Regions from separate parts of the Homo sapiens genome. Here all the other regions are linked to region 2. Evidence: promoter capture Hi-C in 16 types of primary human blood cells and fetal thymus (Javierre and others, 2016). All regions are on one chromosome and are shown on one strand. Each heading gives the region's core, a stretch centred on a gene start or on the middle of the fragment in contact. The rest is flanking DNA. Distances are from core to core; before and after follow the strand shown.

What was found. The method cuts DNA at HindIII sites, captures the fragments that hold promoters and counts their contacts. A CHiCAGO score of 5 or more calls a contact.
Region 1: a fragment that was not itself captured here is called in contact with the fragment with the promoter of TRMT5 in region 2 in 3 of 17 cell types (naive CD8 T cells, total B cells and total CD8 T cells); the score reaches 6.4 in naive CD8 T cells.
Region 3: a contact is called between a fragment that was not itself captured here and the fragment with the promoter of TRMT5 in region 2, in 1 of 17 cell types (activated CD4 T cells). The highest score is 5.1, in activated CD4 T cells.
Region 4: a contact is called between a fragment that was not itself captured here and the fragment with the promoter of TRMT5 in region 2, in 1 of 17 cell types (fetal thymus). The highest score is 7.8, in fetal thymus.

The regions. Positions count from the first base shown.
Region 1 is chr14:60,325,345-60,329,395 of GRCh38, reverse strand. No RefSeq gene overlaps it. Among named protein-coding and RNA genes, the nearest start is that of LINC02322, 4.2 kb to the right of the region's middle. RefSeq lists a silencer at 1,168-1,477 and an enhancer at 1,588-1,647. The HindIII fragment of the contact is 1,908 bases long and covers 818-2,725 here.
Region 2 is chr14:60,978,727-60,982,992 of GRCh38, reverse strand. TRMT5 (tRNA methyltransferase 5) reads left to right here and starts at 1,914. Exons shown (of 5, transcript NM_020810.3): 1 at 1,914-2,030; 2 at 3,107-3,762. The coding sequence starts at 2,020. It overlaps SLC38A6 (solute carrier family 38 member 6), which reads right to left and starts at 1,748. Exons shown (of 16, transcript NM_153811.3): 1 at 1,611-1,748; 2 at 355-485. The coding sequence starts at 1,715. RefSeq lists an enhancer at 1,645-2,024. The HindIII fragment of the contact is 5,504 bases long and covers 1-4,266 here.
Region 3 is chr14:60,240,341-60,244,594 of GRCh38, reverse strand. LOC101927702 (a long non-coding RNA gene) reads left to right here. Exons shown (of 3, transcript NR_188027.1): 2 at 1,725-1,832; 3 at 4,141-4,254. Among named protein-coding and RNA genes, the nearest start is that of PPM1A, 6.8 kb to the left of the region's middle. The HindIII fragment of the contact is 1,366 bases long and covers 1,531-2,896 here.
Region 4 is chr14:61,764,632-61,769,050 of GRCh38, reverse strand. SNAPC1 (small nuclear RNA activating complex polypeptide 1) reads right to left here. Exons shown (of 10, transcript NM_003082.4): 2 at 2,016-2,175; 3 at 1,699-1,839; 4 at 311-415. Among named protein-coding and RNA genes, the nearest start is that of SNAPC1, 4.4 kb to the right of the region's middle. The HindIII fragment of the contact is 1,111 bases long and covers 2,134-3,244 here.

The DNA.
Region 1 (4,051 bases), core at 522-3,021, 650 kb after region 2:
TTCGCATGTGGCCAAAGCACCCTCCACCAGATAAATGCATAAAAAAGGAATTAAAACTTTATTCTATTCTTTCAAACATAAGGGTTCCTCCATCAGGTATGCCTTTTTCTTGGCAATTACTGAATAATCACAATGATAGCTTCACATGTATGGAGGACCCTCAGTGTGTCAGAATTCTTGTTAAGTCAAAAGGAATAATTCTATTTACAGGAAACAAAGGCAGCCCATTGTCAGGCTGACACTGTCCACAGATTTTATCCATGTAGCTTGCTTCTTGCAAACTCCACGCAGGCAGGGATTCTTACCTGTTTTGTTCAGGTTCCAAGCACCTGGGCTTAGCACATAGAAGGCTCTTAAACATTTGTTAAATGAATGAATGAACCTCAACCTTTCTCACCTTCAGTGAAAAGCACTGCAAGGTGATTGAGGAGAAAATAAGGAAGCCTTAGTCCCTGACATTTGTTGAGAAAGGGGTCGAGGAGATGATGAGGGGTGGGGAGAGGAGGCTTTTCCCATGGAACTCTCCAACACTGCTGCAGAAAGCCAAGCACATGACATGCACCACACGACCCCTAGGTGGTGGTCCTTGCAGCCGATTTCAGAGACCATAGCCCCAAAAGTGCAGAGGGTTCCTCTGTTCCCTCTCCTTGGACAGTTCCCATTAGTCTGTCTGGCCTTACCTTTCTAAAGAAATTTGCCGCTTGAAAATCACAGTGATGTACGTTATTGAGTCCCCAGAACTCTCAATCCCCTCTGTTTTTGCCCATCCCAAGCCCAAACTGGCAAGCTCTCTTTCTGCCCGATCTTCCAGGAAGCTTCCCCAACTGCCACAGTCCTGTCCAATTTCACTGAATTTTATTATTTTCAATAGACATATTTTTTAAATGTCTCTCTAAAAGCGACTTAAGATTATTATGTAAGATTTTTATAAGATTATTAACTTTGTAAGATTTTGCCCATCTGAATCAATCTCCAAATCATAGAAAAAATGTTATTGACCTGATAATCGTGTTTCAATCCGGGGTTTGGAAAAGATGTTCACCACATGGAAATCATGGCTAAGACCCATTTCGCACAAAATGCACACTCAGGCATGGTTCAGTATCACGGTGCAGTGTGTGCGTGTCGGGTACCTCACCAGCCACACTTCGGCTTTGTAAAGGTGGGTTGGGGAGCCGAGTCCTCCCATCCTTTCACAGCCCCCGCAGGCCCTGGGTGAATGCTGGTCTAGTGAATTCACAGCTCCCGGGCAACTCCCAGCCGCGAGGCGGGGCGGCAGGGTGGAGGGAGCCACCCGCGGAGAGGCCTCGACCCCCACCCCAGCGAAGCCTAGGGCCGGGGAGCTGCACCTCGGCGCACCCCGCCTGGCGCCCTGAGCCCGCGTGGGCCCGGGCCGGGTTTGCGGGGAGGCAGCTCGGCTCCCGGAGGTCCTCCCGCAGGCGGCGCCCTCCGAGCCAGGCGCGAAGTGCACCCAGGCCCCGCAGCCCAGCGCCGCGTGGCCATCCAGAGGGATTTGTCAGCGCGCCCTATATAGCCGCAGACAGCTGCCATCTGTTATGTTTAGTAACACCACCACGCCGCTCCCCCTTCCTTGAGAATAAACCCGCCTTGGTCATTAAGCCACGAGGATATTTTTTTAACGACTCCCACTCCCTCTTGCAAGCAGTCTTAGCTCATCAGTCCGGGTCTGAGTCTTGAGCGCCCAATTCTGCTTCCTCACTGCGTCCTGGGCGCTCTCTGAGCTGGACGAGCCATCCACTGTGGGCTTGGGCCCCGGGCAGGTGCTTACAGGAAAAGGCGGAGACAGCGCCTCCCTCCATGGGTGCAGCGAGGAGAAAAATCCGTGGTGTGTGACCATTTTAATGCATCGCATTTCAGTTCTGCAAATGCAAAGTGTAAATTAGGCTAGAACATGATTGTGAATCAGACCAGACGTCATGATTAATTTATCACTGTGCTCCAGATACATCAGCTAAAATAATATGAATTTAAAGTAACGGTTCCTCCCGCCTTTGTGTTTGCTGGTGAACTCTAAAGAATAGATCACTAGAGAAATAAAGGAACTTAAGAGTCCACTCTATTCTCGTATTAGCGGAGCATGAACATAATTAAACATTCTCAATAAGGTTTCTTCCACCGTTTGAAATTAAATTTGCCCACCCACATTTTGTATCCGTCTGTGTAACACTCACTGATGCACCCTGAGCTGCTGATAAACATTGAGGCGGAGATTAGCTTTTTCATATTTCAGGTAACATTTATGATGCCTCAAGTTCTGGTTCCCAAACTGGCTGATTATCAAAATTGTCTAGGGCCTTGCCACTAAAAGTGTGGTCCATGAAGTAGCGGCACGGTATCACTTTTGAGATCGTTAGGAATGCAGAATCTCAGGCCCTACTCAGACCTGTTGATGGGAGTCTAAATTTTTTACAAGACCTGCCCTCACCACATCACCACCCCCATTAAAGTTTGAGAAGAATTGATGTAGTTTTTTAAAAACCACAAATACCTTTGCTCAGACATCTATATATGTTTAGTAAGCAGCCGAGTTGATTCTTATAAGTTGAGTTGTCAAGTTTGGAGGTCACTGGTCTTTGAGGCTCAAGGTTCAGATGACTTTTATGCTGATGACATGAACCAAATTTATTAAATCAGTGGAACTCTCTCTGAAAGTTTGGTACAGGTGAGTTTATCTGTTTAGTCATCCATGAATTACAAGAAAGCTTATTAATTATTTAGTTAAATAATGACACATTTAGTCCTCCAATTAGGAAAGCTCAACACTAGGAAGGAGGATTTTCTCCTTATGTAACTGGCTCATTCACTCCCAGACTGAGTGTAGGCATGAGGAAATCTTTTGCTTGGCCATCAAAGCCGCCCCCACCCCCTTCGAATGTTCTGACTTTCTTTATAACAGTACCTTTCATTCAGAAGAATACAAACATCCCTTGTGCTGCTGTTCAGTGATGTTGAGGGCTGTACTGGAGGACTGTGTCTAGTTCTGGACCTCACAATAAAAGAGGGATGTGGGGACCTTGGCAAAGGTTCAGAAGATATTTGTAAAGGTTATTTTTTAAATTCAGAATGAATCTTCACATTGTGTGGCATTATCTATAAAATGGACATGAAATGAACTTTGACTGTAGCTTGAGATTTTTACTTTAAGAGAAAAGCAATTGTAGAAATAAGTGGAGGAAGAAGAAAGAATGTCTCTTGAGCACAAGTTCTCACCTTGTGCATTAGTTACAATGACCTGGAGAAATTTTTTAAAACCCCAATGCCAGTTAAGTTGGGGGAGTCTTTGTGGTTGGGACCTGAGCATCAATAGTTTTTCAAGTACTCCAGGTGATTCCAATGCACAGCTCCTGAGCAGTGCTGCTGCAACTTTAATGTCATTGGCACCACCTGGGAAGTTTGTTAAAATGCAGATTGTGGCCGGTGCAGTGGCTCACACCTGTAATCCAAGCATTCTGGGAGGCCAAGATGGGCAGATCACTTGAGGCCAGGAGTCTGAGATCAGCCTGGACAACATGGCAAAAACCTGTCTCTACTAAAAATACAAAAAGTAGCTGGGTATGATGGTGCATGCCTATAATCCCAGCTACTTGGGAGGCTGAGACACCAGAATCACCTGAATTCAGGAGGTGGAAGTTGCAGTGAGCTGAGATTGTGCTACTGTACTCCAGCCTGAGAGAGCAAGACTGTGGGGCAAGAGATTCTGCAATTCTAAGAAGCATCTAAGTGAAGTCAAAGCCCTGGTTTTATGAACCAGGCTTTGAGTAGCAAAGGCTAGCGGGGTTTGAAAGTAAACTAAACTCTCTGCCAGGAAAAATCCATGATCTTATTTTCAGGCCATCTCAAAGTCTCCTATGGCTTTATGACACCTGTCAACATGCAAAAGAGATAACTCCAACCACCACATAAGCCAATGAAAAGAAAACCAAGCCAAGTGCGGGTGCAGTGGCTCATGCTTATAATCTCAGCACTTTGGGAGGCCAAAGTGGGAGGATTCTTGAGGACAGGCATTTGAGACCAGCCTGGGAATCATAGC
Region 2 (4,266 bases), core at 665-3,164:
TGTTGTATTTGCACTCACAAAATTGCTATTTGGAAGTTAATCTGCATGGCTTTGATTCACTTTGGCCAAGGAGATACAATGAATATGCCACTCTTAAGTGTCATATTTCATTATAAATGAAATGTGGATCAAGTTCCCATTTTTAAAAACTAGTCACACTTCTGTGTATTTAAGAAGCTATGTAGTAGCCCTCCAAGGTACACACTAGCAACAAGAATAACAAGAAAAATGCTAAAACCCCAGAAATAACTAACTAGAAATTGTATAATAGCAGCTTCTGGAATCTATCTCTCTACTTCTCCGTATATTATCAAAATGGAAAAAAAAATTTGATGCTAAAATATGAAGACTCACCTAAATCCAAAGACACCGGTATTAGCCAAAACATAAGCTAAGCCAAGGATGCCACTTCCCATGATGGCATTCATCAAATTAAACACTGATAAACCAAATGAAACACCTGGGGATCGCTGTCTGTGAAGTTCCTGTAAGCACACAAATTTAGTAGTGTTAAATGTTTGGACGGTGAAGTTAAAATTTCGTAAAGAAATTCCATAAATGAAAGATTATGGAAAAAAGCTGCAAACCACCAGGGTTTGTATGACACACTCGTTGCTTAACCAACACTAATTTCCTTTCCTTTCCTTCCCACCTCCCACTACTGCAGCTCCAGGAATCTAGGGTTTCTTAGGAAAATGATTTCCACCAGTACACAAGACAGGCAGAGTTCAGGAAGGGCCATGACTAACCTTGTGACTGCAAGAGATGAAGATAGGATGGGAATGGAGTGGGGAGAGAGAGGAGGGATAAGGCCTCAGCTCATGTGATTACTAAAGAATTGCTGAGTCAACCTGGGACTGCTGTGGGCAGTTGTTTCTCCTCAATTACTAGGACTGCACAACTAATCTCTACTTATATATCTAATGAATTAGTTCTACCAAACTGGAAGGATGGTCAGGAATATCTTGCAATGACAATATTATAAACAGAAGCAATTCACGTTGTTCTGGCAGTATCCCTGAAAACATCCCCCTCCCCACAAACAGCACCGGGAACAAAGTCCTGGGAACAGTGTCTAGGACTCGAGTTAAAAAGCGGAGTGCCCACTGCACAGGCTTTAGGGTCAGGAACGTGCTATGCACTTACTACCAAGCCACTTCCATTCTACCGCTAAGAATTTCTGTATTAAAATGTTTATTATTTTCCCTCCCCCCATGACTAAGTCGGAAGAGGAAAATCCTGTGACTCTTGCAAAGACCTCACGAGACTGGTGGAGAAAATAAGGTGACAAAAATACTAACTAACAGCAGTGAGTACATAATCCTAGGGCCGCTCATCCCATCATGTTCGCAGCTTCCACTCAACGCTGCATCTCTTCCACCCGACGCTTTTCATCTTTTCTTTCTAGAGTATGCTAGGCTGCTATCACGTTCATAACTGCGCCAATCTCATCTGAATCTCGGCGGCTGCCTTCAGACCCCATCCCCCAGGGTTCAGGCTCCAGCATCTCCCCTGTCCCGGTGCGGTCCTCCTTTTCTGGGTCTTATTTGGCAGGCACTTGAGGGAAGCCGGAGGGCGTCAGCGCGGGGAAGCGAACACAGCCCACTTACGTTGCTTAGCAACGGACTCAACTCTTCGGCCTCCGCTTCTTCAGGCTGCTGGACAGAGACATACCAGCCCCGCTCAGCGTTGAAGCTCCCCCAGGACGCCTCCATGCTGCTCTCCAGCTGACTACCAGTTCCATCTACGAGCCTCTACCCCTGCCCTGCGCTCCAGTCGTCGGTCGCGCCAGAGGCGGAGCTTTGAGCCCGGCCCTTCCGGCATTCCGTACTTCACCAGGGCCTGGAAGGAGAGGAGCGAGTCGACTTGATCTGATGACGCGCGCCCTCTTCGCGGCGAACAGTGATGATGTCATAGAAGACCCGCCCATCCACCCGCGACCCACATCCGATCGGTACCGGAGCGGGAGGTGAGGGGTCGGCTCGCGGATCCAGCTGCAGAGCGACGTGGGGAATTGGAATGGTGCTTTGGTGAGGTGGCGGCCGCGTTAGGGGCTAATGGTCCAGGGGAGGTACCAGCCCGCCCAGGGCTGCTCTCTGCCATGTGCTGCCTGGGCACAGAAACATCGCGAGGTCACCCACCCGCCTAGGTGCTGAGCTTAGTTTCGAGGTTCTGGATAGTAAGGAATGTTTCAAAAGCCTTTCGCCACATTTTACTGGTGGGAAAACCGAGACTTATAGTAATTTATCCAGGGTCACCCAGCTGGTCAGCTGCTAGAACCAATTTGATCTCTGACGGTGAAGTTAGACTTCGTTGCTTTACAGGATTCTGGGACAGGGCCCTTTCCCCTTACAAGTAAATTCTTTGGTATTTTAGAAGACAGTGAATAACTGATACTATGCATATAACAATCAGCAAAGCTCTCGTCCTCAAAATACAGAAGCCTCTAGTTAAAGGCAGGACATGTGGCAGTAAAGCATCGAAAACAAACAACAGAGCAATATATTAAGAACACAAGCACCGAAGTCAGTCAAAACTAGGTTTTAATCCATGTTTAGCCACTTATCAGCTGGGAGACTTTGGGTGGGTTACCTTACGTCTGAGCTTTAGTTTACTTATTTACAAAATGAGGGTGCAATACTGCACACCTCCCAAGATTCATAATGTACATAAAGCATTTAGCGCAGTATCTGACACAATAAGCACCCATGAGACTATCCTAATAAATATCACCACTAGTAATGGTCATGTATAATGACTATTTCATTTACAGATGACCATTTAACTCATACTTCAGTCTTCCAATCCCAAATGTATTATCTAGAAAATTGTGGGTGAAGAGGATCATTGAGTATGGCTAATGGATCACTAAGCCCTCTGAACTGGGAGCAGATGGGTTGAAGGTGTAAATTTAATATATACCACTATTATCTACCACTAATACGACTTCCTGAAGAAGTCATCCTAGTCTGGAAAAGATAGTATACTTCCCACACATCACTAAACGTTTTATTTGTCAGCATTTAGCCCGTTATTTGAGATAGTAGAATTTAGATTTTTATTCTCAAAAGCTGTCGTGTGTGAATTTTTTTTTTTTTTTTTTAAGGATCTTATGGAGGCCATTTGGATTCTCAGGAAGATTTCTGAAACTGGAAAGCCATAGCATAACTGAATCAAAATCGTTGATTCCAGTAGCTTGGACATCCCTGACACAGATGCTTTTGGAAGCACCTGGTATTTTCTTATTGGGTCAAAGAAAAAGATTCTCAACCATGCCAGAAACAGAAACACATGAGAGAGAGACTGAATTGTTTTCACCACCTTCTGATGTCCGAGGCATGACAAAACTTGATAGAACAGCTTTTAAAAAGACAGTCAACATTCCAGTGCTTAAAGTGAGGAAAGAAATAGTCAGTAAATTGATGCGATCCCTAAAAAGGGCAGCATTGCAGCGCCCAGGCATAAGACGTGTGATTGAAGATCCGGAAGATAAAGAAAGTAGACTAATCATGTTGGATCCCTATAAAATATTTACTCATGATTCCTTTGAGAAAGCAGAACTCAGTGTTTTAGAGCAGCTTAATGTCAGTCCACAGATCTCTAAATACAATTTGGAACTAACATATGAACACTTTAAGTCAGAAGAAATCTTGAGAGCTGTGCTTCCTGAAGGTCAAGATGTAACTTCAGGGTTTAGCAGGATTGGACATATTGCACACCTAAACCTTCGAGATCATCAGCTGCCTTTCAAACATTTAATTGGTACGTGTGTCATAGTAATATTCATGTATTTGAAGGGAATTTGCAAATTGTTAATTTTAGCTTTAAAAATTATTTTTTTTAATGCCAAGTTACAGAGGCAGAACATTTTATCATGTTAACTTTAAGCTAGATCTTGAGCTACATACCCTCTTTTGAGGGCCATTTTGAAATATCTTCTTTAGTCATAGCAAGTTCCAAATACTGGTCCAGGCTTTTGTGTACAACAATACATCAGTGTAGATTAAACTTGAATCACATGCTTTGGCAGCTACATTGAGGAGAGATCTTTTTGGTACACAAGACTTGTTAGGCCTTCAGGGCTATGTTAAATACTAGGTTTCATAAATTTGGGTACTTTATAGTCAAAAGTGCAAGATGTTTACTTATGCTTTCATTGATTCAACCAATTGAGCCTCTTCTATATGTCAAGCACCATACTGTCCTGTTACACATTTCTTTTGTTTTTATTGATGAAGGGAGTAATAATGGATAGTGGTAACATAA
Region 3 (4,254 bases), core at 964-3,463, 740 kb after region 2:
ACTATTGAAATTGAGAAGTATTCCATAACTCCAGGAAAGACCCGTCAGACAATCCAGCAGCAGCTAGAAAAGAGTGAATTATAAGCTTCAAATAAATAGTTTTCATCCCAATATAGGTACCTATTTGTGCTAAGTAAAGACTAGCACAGATTTGAGTGGGCTTCTTCAGAACAATTCTTCTGGGTGTTTACTGTCTATCCTGGGCATTACAGAAGATCTCAAACTAAACCATACTTTTGAAAGCAGCGACACACTGCATCCTTAACAATGGTGGCCTGGTTGAAAACAGTAATGAAATTGTCATCATCATAAAGCCTTTTATCTGAACCTGACTCTGCAGTTTACAAAGCACTATCATACAGACTAACCAGTTTAATCCTCTCAAAAACCCTTGCAGGTAGACAGGGCAAGGACTCTTAATCTCCTCCTTTATAGAAGAGAAAACTAAGCATCTGGTAGTAACTACCCAGGGTCACAGAAATTAATGACGGGTACCCAGGTTTGTCCCCCGTACGATACTGAGCATCATTGCTTTTACATGCTGGTAGTAAAGGCAGCAGGAGTGGAAAGAGTGCTGAACTTAGTTCCAGTCCGTGGTGTGGAGAGCTGGCCTATACTGGCTCATGACAGCAGATTATTAAATTTTCAGAAATTTTGCCTGCTGTTTGTTAAATACTCATTATTAAAAATTAAATGATATAGGCTGGGTGCAGTGTCTCATGCCTATATTCCCAGCACTTTGGGAGGCTGAGGTGGGTGGATCACCTGAGATCAGGAGTTTGAGATCAGCCTGGCCAACATGGTGAAACCCCGTCTCTACTAAAAATACAAAAATTAGCCAGGTGTGGTGTCGGGAGCCTGTAATCCTAGCTACTTGGGAGGCTGAGGCAGGAGAATTGCTTGAACCCAGGAGGCAGAGGTTGCAGTGAGCTGAGATTGCGCCATTGCACTCCAGCCTGGGTGACAAGGTGAGACTCCATCTCAAAAATCAATCAATAAATAAATATAAAAATAGAAATAAAAATTAAGTTAGATAAACTTCCAATGAAATAAATTTTAAACAAAGGTAGTATGTGATAAAAACATCACTTCCAAATTATGTTAATACATTTTAATATTGTCTTTGTTCTTTAGGCAATTTACATGCATTGTGTCTGCATGGTGGAAATTCCCTATATGTAATTGTACATCTCTTCCCAATACCACATTTAGTGAGTTTTCTTTGGTAGCTTGATCAGCGGACACCACAGATGAGGGCTTCACTTATTGCTTTGCTGGTTGTGGGCTAGACCAGGGTTGTCCAATCTTTTGCTTCCCTCGGCCACATTGGCAGAAGAAAAATAGTCTTGGGCCACACATAAAATACGCTAACACTAATGATAGCTGATGAGCTAATACAAAACAAAACGAAACAAAATCACACACACACACAAAATCTCACATTTTAAGAAAGTTTACGAATTTGTGTTGGGCTGCATTCAAAGCCATCCTGGGCTGTATGCGGCCCACAGGCCCAGGGTTGGACAAGCTTGGTCTAGGCTTAAGTGACAGAGAAAATGTTTTATGCAGATTAAATGTAAAAGACATGTCGTGTCTATAACTGTTACATGGTGAATAGCATAAAAACATTCAATTTAGCAATGAAGTCACATCATTGACTAATAAGCTCTAACATACATTTTTGTTGTTTTATTTTTATCTTAAATGAAAATATTAACCAATAGCCATGTTGGAACTACATTTGGAAAGGTGGTTGTTAAACATTTCCCAGCACACACCTGGATCTGCATCTGCTGTGTCAATTGAACCACTCACTGGTTCTGTGACCTCAGGCAAGTCATTTAAATTATAAGCCTTGGTTTTATCCTCCACAGAATACTTCCTCCTAAAATGTGTTGTGAAAATTAGAATAGATGAAGGCACCCTTGAAAAGATGACTGATGCGGTTGGTTGCCCCACCACTTCCTACTACTTGGCAGAGCCTCCTCGTTGGCAGATCCTTCTCTCACTAGAGCATGTATATGGATGCATGCTCTCTCACCCTCCCTTGTAGCTTAGAGCAGAGCATACCAATCTATGTGCCAGCATACCCTGGTATGTCTCAGATGGGTCATAGATGTGATAAGGTATGGATCCCTTAAGCCCTTGGGACATTCAAGTGAGGCTGAGCTGCTGAAGCCCTGGGATGGTATGACTGGCCACAAGCAACATTACCCAGGTACCCCTCTGTGTCACAAAAACGTTATCTTTGTATTTGTGTCATGGTGTGAAAAAATTGAGAAGCACTGCCTGGGGACATAGTGAGGTAGCCCAATTCTGGATAAAGGAAATTGAGAAGTCTTGAGGGGGTAGAGAGGTTTTCTTCCCTAATAAGAAGAATCACAGGAGAGAAAATGCCTTCCTCAGCCATATGTTGTTATTTCTATATGTGAGCCTGGAATTTCAAGGTTATCTTGCAAAGAACCAAGGCAATGTAGAGAAAAGAATTGATAGCAAGTGGCTGGATCTTTCACATTGTAAAGCCATTGAGCCATCCGTGCAATTGCCCACCTTGGGAATTTATTTTTAAGAGTGATAATAAATGCTCCTCATTGTTTAAACTACTTTGATTTTTGTATTTGGTTATTCATAATTAAAAACACCCAAATACAGTAGAAGAACTGGTACATCCCTGACACCTAATGAGTGCTCAATATGGTTAGTTAATCACCAAATTAGATCCTTTGCCTTTAGAAAAGCTGCCATGGTCAAATGTGTGTTGATCTTATTTTTCGTAAATATTTAAGAAATTTGTTCAGTAACTAGCTTAACTTTTAATATTTATCTTGAGTCTCTTCTAAATATGTTTTTACTGTATAATAAAAGCAATAATTGAAAAATGACATCATTTTAAGCTTGAGAGCAACTAGATACAAAGATGTTGATATGCATTTTCTCTTCTTGAAGGATCTAGACAAACTGGAGCACCATTACATGAAAAAGGTTAAAGAATCAATGTTTTGCAAAATAGAACTGGAATTAATTCATGGGAATTACAGAGAAGATCATATTAGTTCAATATAAAAAGAGGGCCTAGAATGTGCCAAGCTCCATACAATGCCCCTCATGAGTGTTATTTAATTCTCACAACAACTTTGCAAAAAAGAAACTATTTTTTTTTCCATTTTACAAAGGAGGAAGCTAAGGCTGTGAAAAAGAGCTCTTTTGCAAGCCTAGGACCTGATTCCAAAATTCCCACTCTTTCTGTTGCAAATTCTGGCTAAGCTTTCCAGAGATGACTTGCTTTCCCCTTGAGGCCCTTTCAGTGCATTGTGCCATGGAAAACAAAAAGCCCAACAATGACATCTTTACCAAAGATGCCTTGGGGAGATGGGAGAAGAGTTACAATGCACATTACACAGCAAAATCTTTTTTAAGCTCCAAGTAAAATTGGTTTTTTCTTAGAGTTTTGCTTCCAGCAGTCACTTCCTCCATTCTCCTGCTCTCTCCACGTGAGGAAAACTTCTATCCTGCCTTCTCCTAATACACTTTCCTGTTTTTTTTTTCCTGCACATTTCTTAAAAATCCCACATAAGGCAAAAGCCAAGACAATATCCATCAACACCTCCACCCCCACCGCATGTCCATGGAGAGCTTCAAGTCATCCTGCCGCTGGTACAAACACGGCAGAGGCCTCTTTGTAAAGAAGTGGTAGGTAGAATTCAGGTTAGCACCAGAATCTGAAAACTCCAGCTCCTTTGACTGGGACCAGGCTGGTAATATAAATGTTAGATCAGGCTGGGTCTGACACAATGGGGATCAGTAGAGCATACTTGTCACATTTGAAGGCATTCAGAAAAATAATAACCTTAAAACATTCTAAACATGTTGCAATCAAAGAGGATACCCCTTGACCACTGCACGAATTGGAGTTCAAAGATCATCTCTCTTTTGCCTAGGCTGTAGACTAGTTATTTAACCTCTCTCAGACTTGGTTTCCTCTTCTGGAACAGGGTATATCAACTACCTTGCAGAAATAAATGACATCCTGTACACAATGCACCTACCACGTTGCCTGACCCAATAATGTGTACATACATAAGAAAATGTTCATGCCCTTTGCTCACTTTAAAATTTTTTTTTCTTGTATATTTGTTTAAGTTCTTCGTAGACTCTGGAATGGAGCTGGAAGCTGTCATCCTCAGCACACTAACGCAGGAACAGAAAACCAAGCACTGCATGTTCCCACTTATAAGTGAGAGCTGAACGAGCAGA
Region 4 (4,419 bases), core at 1,440-3,939, 790 kb before region 2:
GTAAAGTCACTTTAAACTCTTGTTTTATGACCTAACTAAAGTCAAATACAAACAATAGTTTTAGTAACAGAATCCACACATCTTCAGTCCAGGTCCAGTCTTCTACATCTTTTTTTCTCACGCTATTTCAAGATTTGTAAGCCTTGATATATTTAGGCTATTTTATGTCTGATACTCTAGAGAAATAGCATCCTAGAGTGGTTAAAATCATTAGAAAAATCAGTATCCAGTAGATGAAGGTATAACCTCAATATGTAGTTGGCAATAAAACAATTTTTAAAAATTTTCAAGAGCATAAAAGAAAATTTACCTCTAATACATCAGAAGTGATAAGTTTCATCACACGATCACTTGGGTCCTTAAATTCTTCTGTAACTTCAGCTCGGTGAATTTTTTTCTTCATCCTATATGACAGCTATGTGATAATACGTGTCTTTTTAAATGAGTATCTTTTAAACAGTATTGTTAAAAGTATTGAAATATAAGCCAGCACTAAAAATTGTCTATAAGTAAACACAGATAAAACAAAACCAGCTGTAAGGGTACATCTGTTAAATATCCACGTTCCAAAGACTGTTAGACTTGTGAAGTATCCTCTCACATGCCATGCCACATGCCTACAAATTCAGATAAGACAGAAATTACATAATTTGCCAGCTAATGGCAGAACCAGAACTAGTGCTCTTCAACCTAGTGTCTCAATTACCACTAGATTAAAAAAAAACAAATGCTATTAGAAGTTTCAACTTTTCACCAAAGAATTTTTAACAATTTTGTACGTCTTTCAGTAACCTCCTCTGATGTTTGAGACATGAGCAAATGCAGATGCCAAATCTAATTTGTTCTCAAAACAGTTCGCTTAATATGTGGCACCCAGATACACTGCATTTAAAAAGCAAAGGCTAAATTTTTGCTTGCAGAAAAAAAAGTAGTAATTAGAAAATACCTTCTCCTATTTTAAAAAAGCTACAAGGCCGGGCATGGTGGCTCACCTGAGGTGAGCAGCACTTTGGGAGGCTGAGGCGGGTGGATCACCTGAGGTCAGGAGTTCAAGACCAGCCTGACCAATATGGTGAAACCCCATCTCTACTAAAAATACAAAAATTAGCTAGGCGTGGTGGAGGGCGCCTGTAGTCCCAGCTACTCAGGAGACTGAGACAGGAGAATTGCCTGAACCCTGGAGGCGGAGGTTGCAGTGAGCTGAGATAGCACCACTGTACTCCAGCCTGGGCGACAGGGCAAGACTCTGTATCAAAAAGGCACACACACACAAAAAAAGTTACAAGCCAGGCCGGGCGCAGTGGCTCACGCCTGTAATCCCAACACTTTGGTAGGCCAAGGTGAGTGGATCACGAGGTCAAGAGATCAAGACCATCCTGGACAACATGGTGAAACCTTGTCTCTACTAAAAATACAAAAATTAGCTTGGTGTGGTGGCGCATGCCTGTAGTCCCAGCTACTCAGAAGGCTGAGGCAGGAAAATCCCTCGAACCCGGGAGGCGGAGGTTGCAGTCAGCCGAGATGGTGCCACTGCACTCCAGCCTGGGCGACAGAGCAAGACTCTGTCTAAAAAAAAAAAAAGCTAAAAGTCTTGAACACTATCAATACTTATTCCATTTTCTGGAGATTGAGAGGTTTTATGGACAATAAAGTATAATTGCTCATTTTGAAAAAACCAAATTATTTTAGGCAACATACCAATTTGGGCATTGCTGTAAAGTGAAATGCTCTGTCTAGTCGTAGCTTCCTAAAAATATAAGCTGCATCAAAATGCTGTGCATTTACTAAATCTTGCTGAAATTTTAAAACTTCATCCCAATCCTTCAGGGCAACTCTGATCTGCAACCAGGAAGAAAAAAAAGTTGTACTAAATGTAAATATTTTTTCACAAACATATTATAATTTTAAAATACTGGCATTTTATTTAAATCATATTTAATCATATAATATTTATTATAAAAATATGGTACTTGTTTTACATTTCTGCTAAGGAAAAATAACTCACTAAGTATTACCTTTTGTTTTGGTTGACACAGTTGGGTATTATATAATCCATATAGCAGATACAAAGCACCAACTCTGATCTGGAAGGTGTATGGAGGTAAAAAATATCGCCAAGCCAAAGCTAAAGCTTCTTTTGTAAACATGTTCTTTTCTAAATTTCTCATTCTGCCACTAATAAACAGAGAGAAAATATATTACGACTCATTAAGTGAATAAGTAATGAACAAAAGCCAAAAGTATATACTTGTTTAAACGGTAGTTATAATTTGATGAGGATTCCATACCTGATTCTTTCATGATTCAAGCACAAAGAGATAATTTTACACCAAGGCAAAGGCAACTACTAGGTAAACATGACGCAGCTTCCAAAAGCATCAACTTTACTTGCCAAATTGAAGAGCAAGAAGGAAGGGGTTTCAAATTACTATTGGTTAAATATTTAAAACCCATAATGTTAAAATAATCATGGTTATGTTACAGAACTATGTGCATTTTAATATACAATTGCCAAAAATGCTTGTTCTTTGGTGCTATAAAGAAGTATCACTTGAACGTAAATTTTATTTCTTCAGCAAGGCCATTTTTTTACTTTCTGCACAAAAGGGTACAGTCGCCAGCAGTTTTGCTACACTGAACAAAGGAGACAGGGTCATTTATAACTTGACACATCTACTTTACTGCTGTGTCCGGTTTCTATTGGCTGGAACGGGACTTCACATTCTGTATCTGTCTTCATTGACTAGCAACTTAGAACTTGAAGTAACTTGTGGAATGCTGAGAAAGGTAAAAACACTTTTAAATAAGGAAGAAGAACAGGCTATGACTTAATGCTTGCTTGGACCAGTATAAGCACGCCAGGGCAAATATTTAGGCTAAATTGTGGGAGCTAAGAACATAAAATACACTGATTTCTTTATTACAGCTAGCAGATATTTAAGAATGTTAGCATAGGTCTTTGAATAAATTTTGCTTCTAAGATAAGTTACTATTTAGTCTTAATTAGATGGGGAGGAAACTCTTTGAAGCAGAACCTCTACTTTACTTTTTACCTAACGAACATTTTCTCCAATACTCTCAGGGATTTGCACTAAATCTCCTCTGTCCTTGCGAAGCCGAGGCGAAAAAGATAGAGAAACAGCACAAAGTAACCCGCACTCCTAATTGTCCAGAGCACTGCAAGCTCATCAGAAGAAAGGAGGAGGAAGGGAGAAGAGCATACTCCAGCATACAACCAAAAGCTTTGTCCAAACATCCAAGAGAGCAACAAGGCTTTGTTGGCAATCAATCAATGAAATAACATAGGAAATGTACATGAAAGGAAAGTATCTTGGGCACCCAAGATCACTAAGGAAAACTCAAGCTGGAAACTGCTTAGGGCAAACCTCTCCCATTCTATTCAAAGTGACTTCTCGGCTCACTGAGATAGATGCATATCTGATTTGCCTCCTTTGGAAAAGCTAATCAGAAACTCAAAAGAACGCAAGCATTTGTGTATCACCAATCTGTGACCTGAAAGCTCCCTCCCCACTTCCAGTCTTCCTGCCTTTGCTTCAAGTTGTCCCGCCTTTCCAGAACGAACCAACGTACTTCTTGCATATATTGATTGATGTCTCATGTCTCCCTAAATGTACAAAACCAAGCTGTGCCCTGACCACCTTGGGCGCATGTCAACACGACTTCCTGAGGCTGTGTCACGGGTGCGTCCTCAACCTTGGCAAAATAACCTTTCTAAATTAACTGAGACGTGTCTCAAATTTTCGAGGTTCACATATATTTTCTGTGGATATAAACAGCATAATGAATAAACTATCTGAAACTGTTCTGCTGTGCTAAGTTAACAAAAAATTTTAAAAAACAAGGCCTTAAAAAAGTCAATGTAACAGTCTTCTTACCACTTTGGATAAAACAATGAAGCCACATTTGTGCATATTATAGGTTTCTATGTAAGACCTGAAATTAGTAGATAAAAAATGCCAGATTTTAAATAAAACATTAGCTAAAATAAATGTCTCAAAGTGTTGATGCGAGTGACTAATACGCTATACAAATATAAATATGTAGAACTTTTACTTTAAAACCAGCAACAAACAATAAAGACATTTGCCCTGCAGCCATAAACACGGGCTCTATTATATCTGATTACAATGCAGGGGTGGAAGGGAAGGGGGTAGTAGGAGGACATTTTGGGTCTTCAAATAATAAATATAGGAAAAGAATACAAAATGCCTACTCTAGTTACGGTAACCAAAGTAATTTCTCAAGAAAATCCACCACTCTAGTGATTCCTGCTTCTTTTATCATTTTAGGTTCTCCCTACTAGAAAATGTAAATGTTACATTTTTAGCTTTTTCCTTAAATGCATTTTTCCCCCCAAGAAGTGGTACAGTGGAATATTAACGGATTTTAGAAACAGGC